Linked DNA regions of Homo sapiens: region 1 is linked to region 2. The links are contacts of gene promoters, found by promoter capture Hi-C in human tissues and cell types (Jung and others, 2019). All regions are on one chromosome and are shown on one strand. Each heading gives the region's core, a stretch centred on a gene start or on the middle of the fragment in contact. The rest is flanking DNA. Distances are from core to core; before and after follow the strand shown.

Region 1 (7,140 bases), core at 2,479-4,978, 51 kb before region 2:
GATGTTTGGCAAAATAAGAGGAAGCTCCCTTCCCAATAATCAAATACACAAGTTTTGTCCATAGAAAACTGAGTGCTTCCCAACATTCATGCCTTCGAGTCAAAAAAGCAGGTGTGGTCAAGCATGGTGGCTCATGCCTGTAATCCTAGCACTTTGGGAGGCCAAGGCAGGAGAATCACCTGAGCCCAGGAGTTCAAAACCAGGCTGGGCAACATAGGGAGATCCTGTCTCCACAAAAAAATTAAAAAAAAAAATAGCCATGTGTGGTGACACCTGCCTGTAGTCCCAGGCTTGATGGATGTAGGGGGATGAATGGCTTGAGCCAGGGAGGTTGAGGCTGCAGTGAGCCATAATTGTGCCACTTCTCTCCAGCCTGAGCAACAGAGCTGAGATCCTGTCTCAAAAAAATTTAAAAAATGAAAAAAAAAGCAGGTATACTAATAAGAAGTGTCCCCTAGAGATTCCCCAACAATCCTCTCCCTCCCACTGAGGTGGAGAGTACCCCAGAGAATATGAAATCAGTGTGTTTCACTGGTAAATTGTCACCATCAAAACAAGTATCATTTTGAGAACAGAATGCATCCGTTCTATGCCATCCTTCTCCACCCACTGCCCAACCCAGCGCAACCACTTCTCTGCTGCGGCTAAGATCACTATCTGCTATGGGTTAGGAGGTATTTCCTCCAGCAAAACCGCCTGGGCACCAAGTTCTGCAAGCTGTGGGGACTGCCATCAAACTGCTCAGCTTTGAGTTGGGAAGGGCATGGTGGGATAAGAAGTAAAAGATAAGTACCCGGATGTCTCTGCTGACATCCAGGCCCCTGTCTTCTACCTGATATTAAAACTCCAGCTATGAAATGAAAATAGACATACACAGAATCACAAACAAAAAATATCTGAATAAAAAATTTTTTAAAACAGTATTCAGAAAAGGGAAACTGGGGCTGTAACTTAAAAAAAAAAAAAAGAGTCCCACATTTCTTTTCTTTTTGAGACAGAGTCTTGCTCTGTTGCCCAGGCTGGAGTGCAGTGGCACAATCTTGGCTCACTGGCAGCCTCTGCCCTCTGGGTTCAAGCAGTTCTTGTGCCTCAGCCTCCCAAGTAGCTGGGACTACAAGCATGTACCACCATGTCTGGCTAATTTTTGTATTCTTAGTAGAGACGGGGTTCACCATGTTGGCCAGGCTGGTCTTGAGTCCTGACCTTAAGTGATCTGCCCGACTTGGCCTTCCAAGTGCTGGGATTATAGGCGTGAGCCACCACACCTGGCCTAATTTTTTTATTTTTAGTAGAGATGAGGTTTCGCCAAGTTGGCCACGCTGGTCTTGAACTCCTGACCTCAAGTGATCCGCCTACCCAAAGTGCTGGGATTACAGGCGTGAGTGACTGCGCCTGCTGCCCCCCACATTTCTTAATTCTCCCCTAGAAGACAAAGTTGGGAAAGTATCTGATTTCTGTGTAATTGCTGCTTTTAGAATCATGAACCTAAACGTTTTCCAGAAACGACTCTCCCAGATCTCATGCACTTATTTCATTTGTAGAATCCCTAAAACACAGCAAAGGGGATATCAGAAGGCCATAAGCAGTAAAGGGCACAGGAATGGGGCAAGCCTAGGGCACACTGGAGCCAACTGTTTTGGTAGACTATACAGAAAACGTAGCACACTTACAGTCTGGGTTGCACTGGCAGAACTTCTCACAGAAATTCTGAGTCATGATGCAGGGGCAGGTGCTGTCACAGGGGCGGTCTGGGTGGTCGCAGGGTTGGTAGTTGTACACTTGTGTGGAAGAGTTATCTAGGAAAGAAAACAGAGGAGGATGCTGCTGTGACCATACTCTCCAGCTGTCTTCCCTCCCAAGTGTCCAGCTGCCCTGATTCAGAGGAGGCTGGTCCTAACAATCTCCTTGGACACACATTTAGCACCTGAAGTGAGAAGACAGGGATGACCGTTGTTCATAAGCTGCAGTGGGGTGATCTGCTTTGTGGGGAGGGTGTGGAGATGGTCTGGGACAACAGGGAAGCTATTCTAAACATTAAATGAGGTCTGGAACCTAGCAAATGGCACACTAGAAAAGTCACATACTGGCCAGGCACAGTGGCTCACGCCTGTAATCCCAGCACTTTGCGAGGCCGAGGCAGGTGGATCATTTGAGGTCAGGAGTTCGAGACCAGCCTGGCCAACATGGTGAAACCCCGTCTCTACTAAAAATACAAAAATTAGCCAGGCATGGTGGTACATGCCTGTAATCCCAGCTACTTGGGAAGCTGAGGCAGGAGAATTGCTTGAACCCGGGAGGCGGAGGTTGCAGTGAGCCAAGATTGTGCCACTGCACTCCAGCCTGGGTGACAGAGCGAGGCTCCATCTCAAAAAAAAGAAAAATCACAGACCACAAGGCCCTTAATGTTACCTCCTAAGAGGTCTTCTCAGTTGCAGTGAGAGGCTCAGCTGTTCTCAGTTGCTGCAGAGAATTCTGCAATCTGCGGAAGTGGCACAGGGTCAACAAGTGCAGCTGGAGGTGGGGTAGGGTGATGACCACAGAGTGAGGCCTCCAGCTGAACTGCTGAAGAATGCCCTGGTAGAACTTACCTTTCTTCAGCTGAATCTTCCTGCAGTGTGCAGCCCACAATCTGAAAAAGACAGGAAGGACAGGTCTCAGTCACGGCCCTAGGGAGCTCTGCAAATGCAGGTAAATGACAACGTGACTTGCTCTGAGGGACTGTGTTTGATGACTGGGGAGTATCTTCCCAAACCCCTCAACAGGACGACTTTGGTACACAGAAGCTAGAGTCCATCCTAAATCCAGCTGGCCTGTGCTACAAGAGTTAAACTTAAACACAACCCCTCCCAAACAAGCAAATAACATAAAAGAACACAACACAGAAATAAAAGAAAGCCCAAGCCTATTGGTCTATTATAAAGCTATTGTTTCTCTCCAAATCTCTCCCTTTGTCTTTGTGGAGGTGGAGATATGGGGGAGTTTCAAGATGGGGAGGTGGGAAGGCCTTTCAGGAATCTTCTCTGAAAGAACTGAAAGGGAGGAGCCACAGGGATTTCCTTCTGTATCTAGAAGTGGTGTCAGCTCCTTCCTCTGATAGGTGATAGTCACTAGGGAACAGGGCCAGGGTGCAGAATTTTTTTAAAAACTTCCAACCTAAGTAAAGGCTATCATGTAACTCAGAAAAACAACACAAACCAAACAAATAAATAAACTCTGATCAGAGTTGAGAAATGGGTAAGGTGGTAACAAAACCAACAAGGAGAAATGGCTTCAGGGTGGAGCCATGAGGCCAGCTCATGTCCTATTGGCCAGAAGCTTAAATAGAAAAACAGACAGTTATGGTCCACAGCACTGGGGGACAAGAAGAGGGCTGATCTAAGGCACAGACCCTCAGGGAGCACTCAGGAGGCTGGCTCTCAGTCATGTGATGCCAAGCTGATGGGCTCACACAGCCTGTGCGGTTGCTAAAGAGGGAGGCAGATGGGAACTCCAAGGGGAGGTCAGAGCACAGGGAACAGCCTGGCTGTAAAACAAAACACTTTGTCCAACCCTTCTTGCCTGTGCTTTCTTTTCTTCTTCTGTGAGGGGTTCATGAGCTCATCTGTTGGCAGCTTCAGGATAAGTGATTCTTTGACTGCAAACTGAAAGACCTGGAAGAGAAATCCAACGGGCCTGTCACTCCTCGAGCAAGGGGGTCAGGTAAGTGGCCCAGCTGGGTGCTGGCCTTGGGAGGGTTCTGAGAAACTCAGGCAGCTGACCAAGCCTCTCATCAGTCAGGGAGAGACAGAGTGCCACTGGAACATTGGGTTACTGGCTCTGAAGTTCATTCCTAATTATTTATCCTGACTCAGGAAAGGAGAAATACTGAGCACAGTAATACCGCCCCTGGTCAGAAGCTGTCACCTACTACTCTTTCTACCAAGCCACGGGTAGAAGAGTGGGCTGACTGTGACCAACAGTATCTTCTTCTTTTTAGGAAGGGCAACGCTGTGCCTTGTGTAACTGAGTGTAAGGCAGGACAGGACAGGACAGGAATGGTTTCAGTGGGCTAAATATTAGCTCCCTCTGTCAGTATAAAGATACCGGAGCCTCAGCCATTTCAATAGGATGTGTTTTTTCTCTTAAAGCACTGGTTTTTAGTTTTTCCTTTTCTTTGTTGGGGCTATTGGCCCTTTGTGGGGGATCTTTGAAAACTGTAACTATTCTCAGGAAAATACAGACAAGAACATTCTTGCATACAAATCCATAGATGGTTACGTTGAGAACCTGTGATCAGGGAAATAGGTATGAGCTCCAAAATGAAAGCAAAGGGCACTTCAGCTCATGGTTCTGTTTTTGTTTGTTTTTTTTTTTTTTTTTTAAGAGAGAGGGTCTCATACTCTTGGCCAGGCTGGAGTGCAGTGGTGCCATCATAGCTCAATGTAGTATAGAACTCCTGGGCTCAAGCCATCTTCCCACCTCAGCCTCCTGAGTACTAGGACTACAGGTACGTGGCTTTTTTTTTTTTTTTTTTTTTGTAGAAATGGGGTCTCACTTTGTTGCCCACACTGGTCCTGAAATCCTGGCTTCAAGCGATCCTCCCACCATGGCTTCCCAAAGCACTGGAATTCTAGGTGTGAGCCACCTTGCCCAGTCCATGGTTCTATTAATTGTTCTCAGTACAGGAAGCATGAAGAAGAGGCCACAGAGTCTCCTCCAGAAGGTAGGAAGCCAAAGCATTGGGGTTCCTTTCCTGTTGGACATGCTGGCCCTGACAGCTGCCTCCTTGTCCCTGTTCTTCAGTCTGTCTTCTCACTGTGGTCTTTTCCTGTCTTTTCCTGGGCCAATCACTTGAGGTCAGGAGTTTGAGACCAGCCTGGCCAACATGGTGAAACCCCATCTCTACTAAAAAAAAATACAAAAATGGCCAGGCACATTGGCTCATGCCTGTAATCCCAGCACTTTGGGAGGCCGAGGCGGGTGGATCACCTGAGGTCAGGAGTTTGAGACCAGCCTGGCCAACATGGTGAAACCCCGTCTCTATTACAAATACAAAATTAGCCGGGCGTGGTGGTGCACACCTGTAATCCCAGCTACTTGGGAGGCTGTGGCAGAAGAATCACTTGAACCTGGGAGGCGGAGGCTGCAGTGAGCTGAGATCATGCCACTGCACTCCAGCCTGGGCAACAGACCGAGACTCCATCTCAAAAAAACAAAACAAAAAAAATTAGCTGGGTGTGGTGGTGGGCACCTGTAATCCCAGTTGCTTGGGAGGATGAGGCAGAAGAATCACTTGAACTTGGGAGGCGGAGGTTGCAGTGAACCAAGATTATGCCACTGCACCACTCCAGCCTGGGCAACAGAGCGAGATTCTGTCTCAAAAAAAAAAAAAAATTAGCTGGGCATACTGGCCTGCACCTGTAGTCCCTTGCTACTTGCTTGGCTGAGGGGAGAGGACTGCTTGAGCCCAGGAGGCGGAGGTTGCAGTGAGCTATGATCATGCCACTGCACTCCAGCCTGGGCGACACAGTGAAACCCTGTCTCAAAGACAAAATAAAGATAATCTAGTGATAGAAAATGTGGAGAATAAAATGACTGAAGAGGCTGGCGGAGTGGTGGAGGGAGCAGCAGCTGCAGCAGCTGCAGCAGCAGCAGCAGTGTGCTCATTAACAAGAGCCACAGAAAGACCTGGGAGTCCCTTCTGGGAAAGGGGTACACATTTAGAAAGGAGGCCAGAGCCAAAAAAAAGAAGCGAAAGAGTGTAGGACCCAGAAGCATTAAATAGAGTCCAGACAGAAATGAGCATTCAGCAAGGAGGAGGCGGGTCCCCAAACATCATTAGGCCTGGCACTTGCAGAAGGGCCATGTTTGGGAAACTCACAGAAGCACAGGCTCATCAGGGACTGAACTTAAGACAACTTCTCTCCAGACCCAGACACACAGCCTGGTAAGATGGCAAAGGGCTGGACAGAGCAATGCGTGAAAGGAGGGGCCCATTTGTTCTGCTGCTTCCAGATGGTACCTGCTTGCACGTCTTGGTCCCCAGAAGCCTGGCTATTGAACAGAAGTTGTTGAAGTAGGTGCCATGGAAGACTCGAAAAAGAGATTCTTCAGCCCCAGTCCATTCCACAGGCTCCGAGGGTGCTTCCACTACGCAGAGTTGAGGTGGGGCTGGACTAGCCTTCTGTTTTGTGGGAGTCTGACAGCGAGAGTTAGCCTCTGAGAAGGGAAGAAATAACAGAATCAGAAGAAGGTAGAATGCAGTTGTCATCAGTAGTTTGTCACAAACTCAGAAGTACTTCATTCTACTTTAAAAGGTAGAACAGTTAGGAATGAAAATATTCCCTATCTTTAGGCCAGGCATGGTGGCTCACGCCTGTAATCCCTGCATTTTGGGAGGCCGAGGTGGGTGGATTGCTTGAGCTCAGGAGTTCAAGACCAGCCTGGGCAACATGGCGAAACCCTGTCTCTACTAAAAATACAAAAATTAGCCAGGCAGGGTGGCTCACGCCTGTAATCCCAGCACTTTAGGACGCCGAGGCAGGCGGATCACCTGAGGTCAGAAGTTCAAGACCAGCCTGGCCAACATGGCGAAACCCCGTCTCTACTAAAAATATAAAAATTAGCCGGGCGTGGTGGCAGGCACCTGTAATCCCAGCTACTTGGGAGGCTGAGGCAGGAGAATCGCTTGAACCTGGGAGGTGGAGGTTGCAGTGAGCCAAGATAGCACCACTGCACTCCAGCCTGGGCAAAAAAGCGAGAGACTGTTTCAAAAAAAAAAAAAAAAAAAAAGAAAATATTCCCCATCTTTACTGTTTACAAAACTTGTAGAAAGAATTTATAATTTTTAAGAGGTAGTAAAGTTAAGTGTCAGGCAGTGATCCTGGGTTTACCAGAGTCCTTGCATGGAAAGAAAAAGTCTTCATTTTCTGTTCATCGTACCTGAAGAACTGGAGGCCCAGTCATTGCCTGTGTCCCTGTCACTGTCTCCTTCTTTAGTCTCAGCCACAGCAGAGGCTGAGGCATTGGAGCAGGAAGCACTGACTATGTGGTGCCTTCTCCGGCGACGACCAGAGCACTTGGAGCGGGGGTTGTGGAGCATGGCATACTCCTTTGCTCCTTCCTGCAGTGGACACATTACAGACAGGAAATAGGAACAGG
Region 2 (6,997 bases), core at 540-3,039:
TGTTGCCCAGGCTCTATTTTAAATCTAACATTTGCTTTTGTCCCCTTTAATCTTGACCCCAACCCCAGTCCTAACCCATAGTGGGCTCATGTGCTTCTGGCCCCAACCCAGTGAAAATGGCTTGTTTTGCTTTCTGCACCTCCTTGCTCCTTCCTCCCATCTTATCACTCAGAAATCTCCCATGCTTCCTTCTTGAAAGGAGCAATCCTAGGCAGGCAGGAAGGACTAGATTTGGTCCCAGCCTGAAATGTCTCAGAGACTGCATGGCTCTTTTCTGCATCATTGTAGAAATGATCCTTACCAGGAGGACTTTGGAGTTCACGTCAAGCAGGCCATTGACTCTCTCCCACTGGATTCTTTGCAAAAGCAGCCTCTTGACCATAGAGGAGGACAACAGGTTATCCGTGCCCATGATCCAAGAGCTTGAGATCCTGAGATGAAGACTTCAGGAGAGATCAGGACAGATAATTTGTGGTGGGCAGGAATCAGTAAACTGGGACAACAGCAGCAGCTGAGTCCAAGGGTCAGTGTCTGGGAGTAATTTAGGAAAGTTTGGTGCTGACAGCTGTGTCTGGGACTTGAACGTCATGGCCAAACCAGCTCCTGGGCTCCTCAGCTGCTTCAGACTAATGAACCTCTGGCCCAGGACACAAGAAGCAGCTGTGGTGTGGCTGAAGTCAGGACCCCCGGAGGCCCAGACTCAGCCTTGCTGCTTCCTTAACAGTGTGACCTTAGATAAGTCACTTAGGAAAAGAGGAAAGGAAACTAGCATTTAGCGAGTGCAGTGCCCTTTCACAGCTGCCATCATACAGTGAGGAGGGGAATGTCCCTATTTCACATGAGAAGTCCTGAAGGTAAACGTGTCATTCAAGGCTCTATAGCTGGGGAGTAAGAAGACAGAATTAGAACCCAGAGCTTCTGAATTCAAATCCCGGGCTGTTGGCCCTGAGCTTTAGCTTCTCGGTCTGTAAAATGGTGTTACACTCACCTGGCACATGAAGTCGCACACTGAAGGTTCTAAAACCCCTCCATTCTTTCTCCCAACCGTGGTCCTGAAGAGCTGTGGCACCTTCTTCCTGGGAACGTAGTCATCGTATTTTGCCCTCCCCACAACAGGTTTGTGGGGTCTAGGCCCCAGGAGGTGTCTGAAGGGAAGGTATTTGGACTTTGCTTTCCCCTCTACCCCACTCCCCAGACCTTCTCCCGACTCCAGAGGGCTGGCTCCCGCTTCTCCTCCCTGGTTTTGGCTGGCGGACTGACATCAGCTGGTATTCCTAGGGATAGGATAAGGAACCCTGAGCTGCATGGCTCAGCTCCAGGCGCCCCTTCCCCCACAACCCAGGACAGCCCCTTAGAAGCAGCGGCGTCGAGAGGCCGCTGGAGCTCCCAGCCCCCTCCCTCTTCTCCACGTCTGGGAGAGCAGCTTGCCGACCCCTCCAGACCCGAAAGAGAGAGGGGGCGACTCGAATTCGGGGAGCGATCCTGGGAGACCCTGGAGAGTCCTGGGCGCCACGCAGCCGAGCCCCCGAAATAGATCCCGGTTCCGGGGTTCCGGGAGCTGTCCAGCCTCGCGGGGTGAGCTACGAGAGGGTGGGCCAACGCCGGCGAGGCGGAGGGAGCCGCGGGCGCCAGGCGCGGGTGAGGCAGCGACTCCCCCTCCAGCCGCGGGCCCCGAGCGTCGCCCCCGCCCCCCACGTGGCCGCCGCCGTCCCAGCCCCTCCGAGGAAGCGGCGCGGCTTCCTGCAGCTTGGGCTGGGGATATAGGCGCCCCCACACCCGGGCCCGGCTCAGCGCCGCCGCCGCTCCTCGCCTCCTTGCTGCACGATGGCCTCGCTCCGGGTGGAGCGCGCCGGCGGCCCGCGTCTCCCTAGGACCCGAGTCGGGCGGCCGGCAGCGCTCCGCCTCCTCCTCCTGCTGGGCGGTGAGCGCGGCGCCCCGAGGCCCGGGCGGGAGGCGCGAGAGGCCCCGGAGGGGAGAGGGGAGAGGGGAGAGGGGCTGGATGGCCGAGGCCGGAACGGGCCCTGGGGTGCGGGTTAGGACCGACGTACCTAGCAGCACTGGCCCTCGGACGGTCCCTGACCCCACCTCGGGGCGGGCGCAGCATGAGCTGCTTCCCACCCAGGGAAAGCTGGGGTGCTGGCCCCGGCCCCTCGAAGAGGGCTTAGGAGGACGGAAGCTGGCCAGAGATGAGGGGGCTTTGGGCCTGGGTGTGAGTGACAAGGAGCTGGTGCCAGCCCCTCCCTCCCCGGCACTGAGGCGTCCGTGGGGGCTAGATTATTCCTCCTTTTCTTCCAAGGTAGCCTATTTTCGGAGGGTCTCAGTCCCCCAACCCCCCTCGCAGGCTCCACTGCCGGGGTCCCCGCTATGTTACCCTCCTCTCCCGTTTCTTCCCACAGCTGTCCTGAATCCCCACGAGGCCCTGGCTCAGCCTCTTCCCACCACAGGCACACCAGGGTCAGAAGGTGGGTACCCAGGGTGTGGAAGGGTGGCCGAGGGTAAGGACGAGAGCAAGTTCAGTGGGGAGGGTTCCTTTCCCACGAGGCCTGCCCAACCCCAGCTGATGCCCCACTACACTCCCCTCTGTTCTTTCTTGGGGTTCCTCGTGGTCTTTCTCCCTGTCCTCCTACAAAGCCCCTGCACGGCTCTGAGCTGCCCACCTCACAAGTGGGCGAGAAGACCCCAGGAAAAGGTGTACGTGGAAGTTCTTATCAGGCTGGGATGGAAAGTGCTTAGCACATGGAAGTCATTATAGGATTCCTGAGCTGGGACTCTGTCCTCAGCCAGAATGTTTTGCTAGGGAAACTTTCTGAAGGGTTCCCACGTTTGAAGACAGGCAGTTCACCTTGCAAGCACCTGGGCAGGAGGGTTTGTAGGGAGGGGTAGGGGTGTGGTCATTGTGTAGCATCTGTACCTACAGGGGGGACGGTGAAGAACTATGAGACAGCTGTCCAATTTTGCTGGAATCATTATAAGGATCAAATGGATCCTATCGAAAAGGATTGGTGCGACTGGGCCATGATTAGCAGGTAGGGGCAGTGATGGAGGGTGGCTCAGGCCAGGGGGTGGACCTGCTCATTGCAGGTAGACCCTGAGTGAGAGTGGGGCACTCTTCTCCCTGGGTCCACCCCCTCTCTCACTCAAGTCCTCTTCTGCCCCTAGGCCTTATAGCACCCTGCGAGATTGCCTGGAGCACTTTGCAGAGTTGTTTGACCTGGGCTTCCCCAATCCCTTGGCAGAGAGGATCATCTTTGAGACTCACCAGATCCACTTTGCCAACTGCTCCCTGGTGCAGCCCACCTTCTCTGACCCCCCAGAGGATGTACTCCTGGCCATGATCATAGCCCCCATCTGCCTCATCCCCTTCCTCATCACTCTTGTAGTATGGAGGAGTAAAGACAGTGAGGCCCAGGCCTAGGGGGCCACGAGCTTCTCAACAACCATGTTACTCCACTTCCCCACCCCCACCAGGCCTCCCTCCTCCCCTCCTACTCCCTTTTCTCACTCTCATCCCCACCACAGATCCCTGGATTGCTGGGAATGGAAGCCAGGTGGGGTCATGGCACAAGTTCTGTAATCTTCAAAATAAAACTTTTTTTTTGTACAATGTCCTTCTCCCCATTTCAGTGGAACCTGTGTCCTTCCCTGCCACTGCCACAGGCCCTCAGCCCTGGGTAGTAGAACTGGAAAAATCTGGATGGCCCATTGTTCTGTTCATTTCACCTGCCCCCCTGCTCCCTGCCTCCATGAAGGTCACACCCCTATATTCTTTCCTCCCAGGCGGGCCTTTCCTGCCTATATCCAAACTCGGCTCCAGGAAACAAGCAGGAAGAGACTCCCTTCCGGTCTGGACAGCAGCTGGGGGCCTGCAACTGGGGAGGTGTGGGGGAAGGGGCAAGGGAGGAATCTCTGCTTGTGACTCCTGCAAGAGGAGCAGGAGGCTGCCCAGGAGCCCTGACTATTCCTCTTCTTCATGCTTCAGTTTACTCACAGGGCCTGGGAAGAGGAACCCTGACTGAGCAACAGGAATCCATTCCTAAGGCCCTCACAATTGAGGGAGAAAGCAGTGGGGGCTTCCTTTACTAGGTTCACCACCCCTCTCCATGTCCCTTGCCCTCATCCTACATTGTCCTGGACTGGGTGTGGCCTGCAGCCTAGCAACACACTGCCCCCTGGTGTCCACTAAAGCCAGCAACCAGAAGACGTATCTGATCTGGAAGAAGCTCAAGGCTGAGGAGCACTGGACCCTGGGGTCAGAAAACTGCCATCTCTACAGCAATCACTAGTTCCTTGTTTGTTTGTTTGTTTGTTTGTTTGTTGAAACAAGGTCTCATTCTGTCACCCAGGCTGGAGTTCAGTGGCACAAACATGGCTCACTGCAGCCTCGACCTCCTGGGCTCAAGGATCCTCCCATCTCAGACTTCCAAGTAGCTGGGACCACAGGCGTGAGCCACCATGCCCAGCTAATTTTTTTTTTTTTTTTTTTTTTTTGAGATGGAGTCTTGCTCCGTCACCCAGGCTGGAGGGCAGTGGCATGCTCTCGGCTAACTGCAAACTCTGCCTCCTGGTTCATGCCATTCTCCTGCCTCAGCCTCCAGAGTAGTTGGGACTACAGGTGCTCGCCACCACGCCCGGCTAATTTTTTGTATTTTTGGTAGAGACAGGGTTTCACTGTGTTATCCAGGATGATCTCGATCTCCTGACCTCATGATCCACCCACCTCGGCCTCCCAAAGTGCTGGGATTACAGGCACGAGCCACCACACCCGGCCTAATTTTTTTTTTAAGTTTTTTTATACAGATGGGGTCTCACCGTGTTGCCCAGGCTAGTCTTGAACTCCTGGCCTCAAGTGCTCCTCCCCAGTCAGTCTCCCAAAGTGCTGGGATTACAAGCATGAGCCTGCTGTGCCTGCACAACCACTAGTTCTTAGCTGGACCCCGCTATCAGCTTCCTGAGACAAACAACACTCTCTTCAGATACCTTCCTACTTTCTAGGATCATACCCAGCCCCTCTCTACAAGTCACCATTGCTGTATATGAACACACCTATATGTTCCCTGGATAGTGAGGCCCATTTCTTACCAGGTAACCTACACCTTCAACTCTCCATCAGACACAACTGCCAGGTCTCCAAAAATATCTCCAAAACAACTTTATTCTCCATGGATACATCTGTTTACTCCTTGTGGCACCCCGAGCCTCTTTAGGGACTTTCCTTCTTGTTGAAATATCTGCCTTCTTGAGTACATGCATGTCCATTTCTTGGGGTATCCTGCCTTTTCCATATATGCTTGTATGATTCCTGGAACATGCCTATTCATTCTCTGAGACACACATCTCTCAGGGTGCATCTGTTTTTCTAGGCACACATATGTTCCCTAAAAATATTTTGAGTTTTCTGACCGGGCGCGGTGGCTGACACCTGTAATCCCAGCACTTTGGGATGCCAAGGCTGGTGGATCACCTGAAGTCAGGAATTCGAGACCAGCCTAACCAATATGGTGAAACCCGTCTCTATTAAAAATACAAAAATTAGCCAGGCGTTGGGGTGTGTGTTTGTAGTCCCACTACTTAGGAGGCTGAGATAGGAGAATTGCTTGAACCTGGGAGGCAGAGGTTGCAGTGGGCCAAAGATCGCTCCATTGCACTCCAGCCTGGGTGACAGAGCGAGATTCTGTCTCAAAAAAAAGTATATATATTTTGAGTTTTCACCTGAAATACAGGTTTCCTTAATTTCCATGAATGCATCTGTCTTCCCTAAAGGTATATCTACTCCCTTTGTAGCATGTATTTGCCTTCATGCATTTTATTAATATACATCAAGGACCTGCTGGTATAAAACACTGTGTGTGCCGGGCACAGTGGCTCACGCACTCCCAGCACTTTGGGAGTGTAATCCCAGCACTTTGAGAGGCTGAGGCGGGTAGATCACAAGATCAGGAGTTCAAGACCAGCCTGACCAAGACAGTGAAACCCCATCTCTACTAAAAATACAAAACTTAGCCAGTTGCAGTGACAGGCGCCTGTAATCCCAGCTACTCGGGAGGCTGAGGCAGGAGAATTGCTTGAACCTGGGTGGCAGACGTTGTGGTGAGCCAAGATCACGCCACTGCACTCCAGCCTGGGTGACAGAGTGAGACTCCATCTCAAAAACAAAACAAAACAAAACAAAAAAGACACTGTGTGGTGTATTATGTTGGAAAGATAGGTTAGATAGAGTCTGGTTTTCTGCCCTCAGTGGCTTTCATCTAGTGAGAAAGTTGACGTGTACAAATTAACAAACCAAAACAAAAGTGTAATGAGAATCATGCTAGGGATACAAACCAAATGTTATCTGAGTGTGAGGGAAAAAGGGATCACATCTGGCTGAGAAGATCACAAGGGGTGTGATCACAGGAGGGTGACTGCAGAGTTGGTAGATGACTAGGCCATAGCTGGAGTACGTTCTTCTAGGGGAGAGAGTAGAAAGGGAGGTGAATTAGGAAATTATTGCAATAATCCAGACCTGAGAAAATGAGGACATGGGGCAAAGGAGTGTTGAATGGGGTAATGGAAAATAATTATAAAGTAGAGGATAGGATTAAAAACGGGAGGAAGAGGCCAGATGTGGTGGCTCATACCTGTAATCCCAGCGCTTTGGGAGACTGAGGTGGGAGGATCACCTGAGGCCAGGAGTTCAAGACTAGTCAGGGTAGCATAGTGAGACCATGTCTCTACAAAAAAAAAAAAAAAACACAGGCAGGGCGAGGTGGCTCATGCCTGTAATCCCAGCACTTTGGAAGGTTGAGGTGGGTGGATCACTTGAGGTCAGGAATTTGAGACCAACATGGCGAAACACCATCTCTTTTTTTTTTTTTTTTTTTGAGACACAGCATTGCTCTGTCGCTCAGGCCAAAGTACAGTGGTGCAATTTTGGCTCACTGCAACCTCTGCCTCCCTGGTTCAAGCGATTCCTGTGACTCAGCCTCCCAAGTAGCTAGCACTACAGGCATGTGCCACC

What was found. The method cuts DNA at HindIII sites, captures the fragments that hold promoters and counts their contacts. A contact is called where the count stands out against the background at its distance.
Region 1: a contact is called between a fragment that was not itself captured here and the fragment with the promoter of RAMP2 in region 2, in 1 of the 25 tissues and cell types used here (liver).

Annotation. Positions count from the first base shown.
Region 1 is chr17:42,706,288-42,713,427 of GRCh38, forward strand. EZH1 (enhancer of zeste 1 polycomb repressive complex 2 subunit) reads right to left here. Exons shown (of 21, transcript NM_001991.5): 11 at 6,922-7,102; 12 at 6,002-6,198; 13 at 3,559-3,650; 14 at 2,589-2,629; 15 at 1,671-1,796. It overlaps MIR6780A (microRNA 6780a), which reads right to left and starts at 1,864; the gene lies at 1,797-1,864. The HindIII fragment of the contact is 8,591 bases long and covers 1-7,140 here.
Region 2 is chr17:42,759,438-42,766,434 of GRCh38, forward strand. RAMP2 (receptor activity modifying protein 2) reads left to right here and starts at 1,790. Exons shown (of 4, transcript NM_005854.3): 1 at 1,790-1,921; 2 at 2,397-2,462; 3 at 2,918-3,026; 4 at 3,160-3,604. The coding sequence starts at 1,825. The coding sequence ends at 3,415. RAMP2-AS1 (RAMP2 antisense RNA 1) reads right to left here and starts at 1,820. Exons shown (of 6, transcript NR_024462.1): 1 at 1,443-1,820; 2 at 1,198-1,274; 3 at 989-1,076; 4 at 302-443. RefSeq lists a silencer at 1,904-1,993. The HindIII fragment of the contact is 24,962 bases long and covers 1-6,997 here.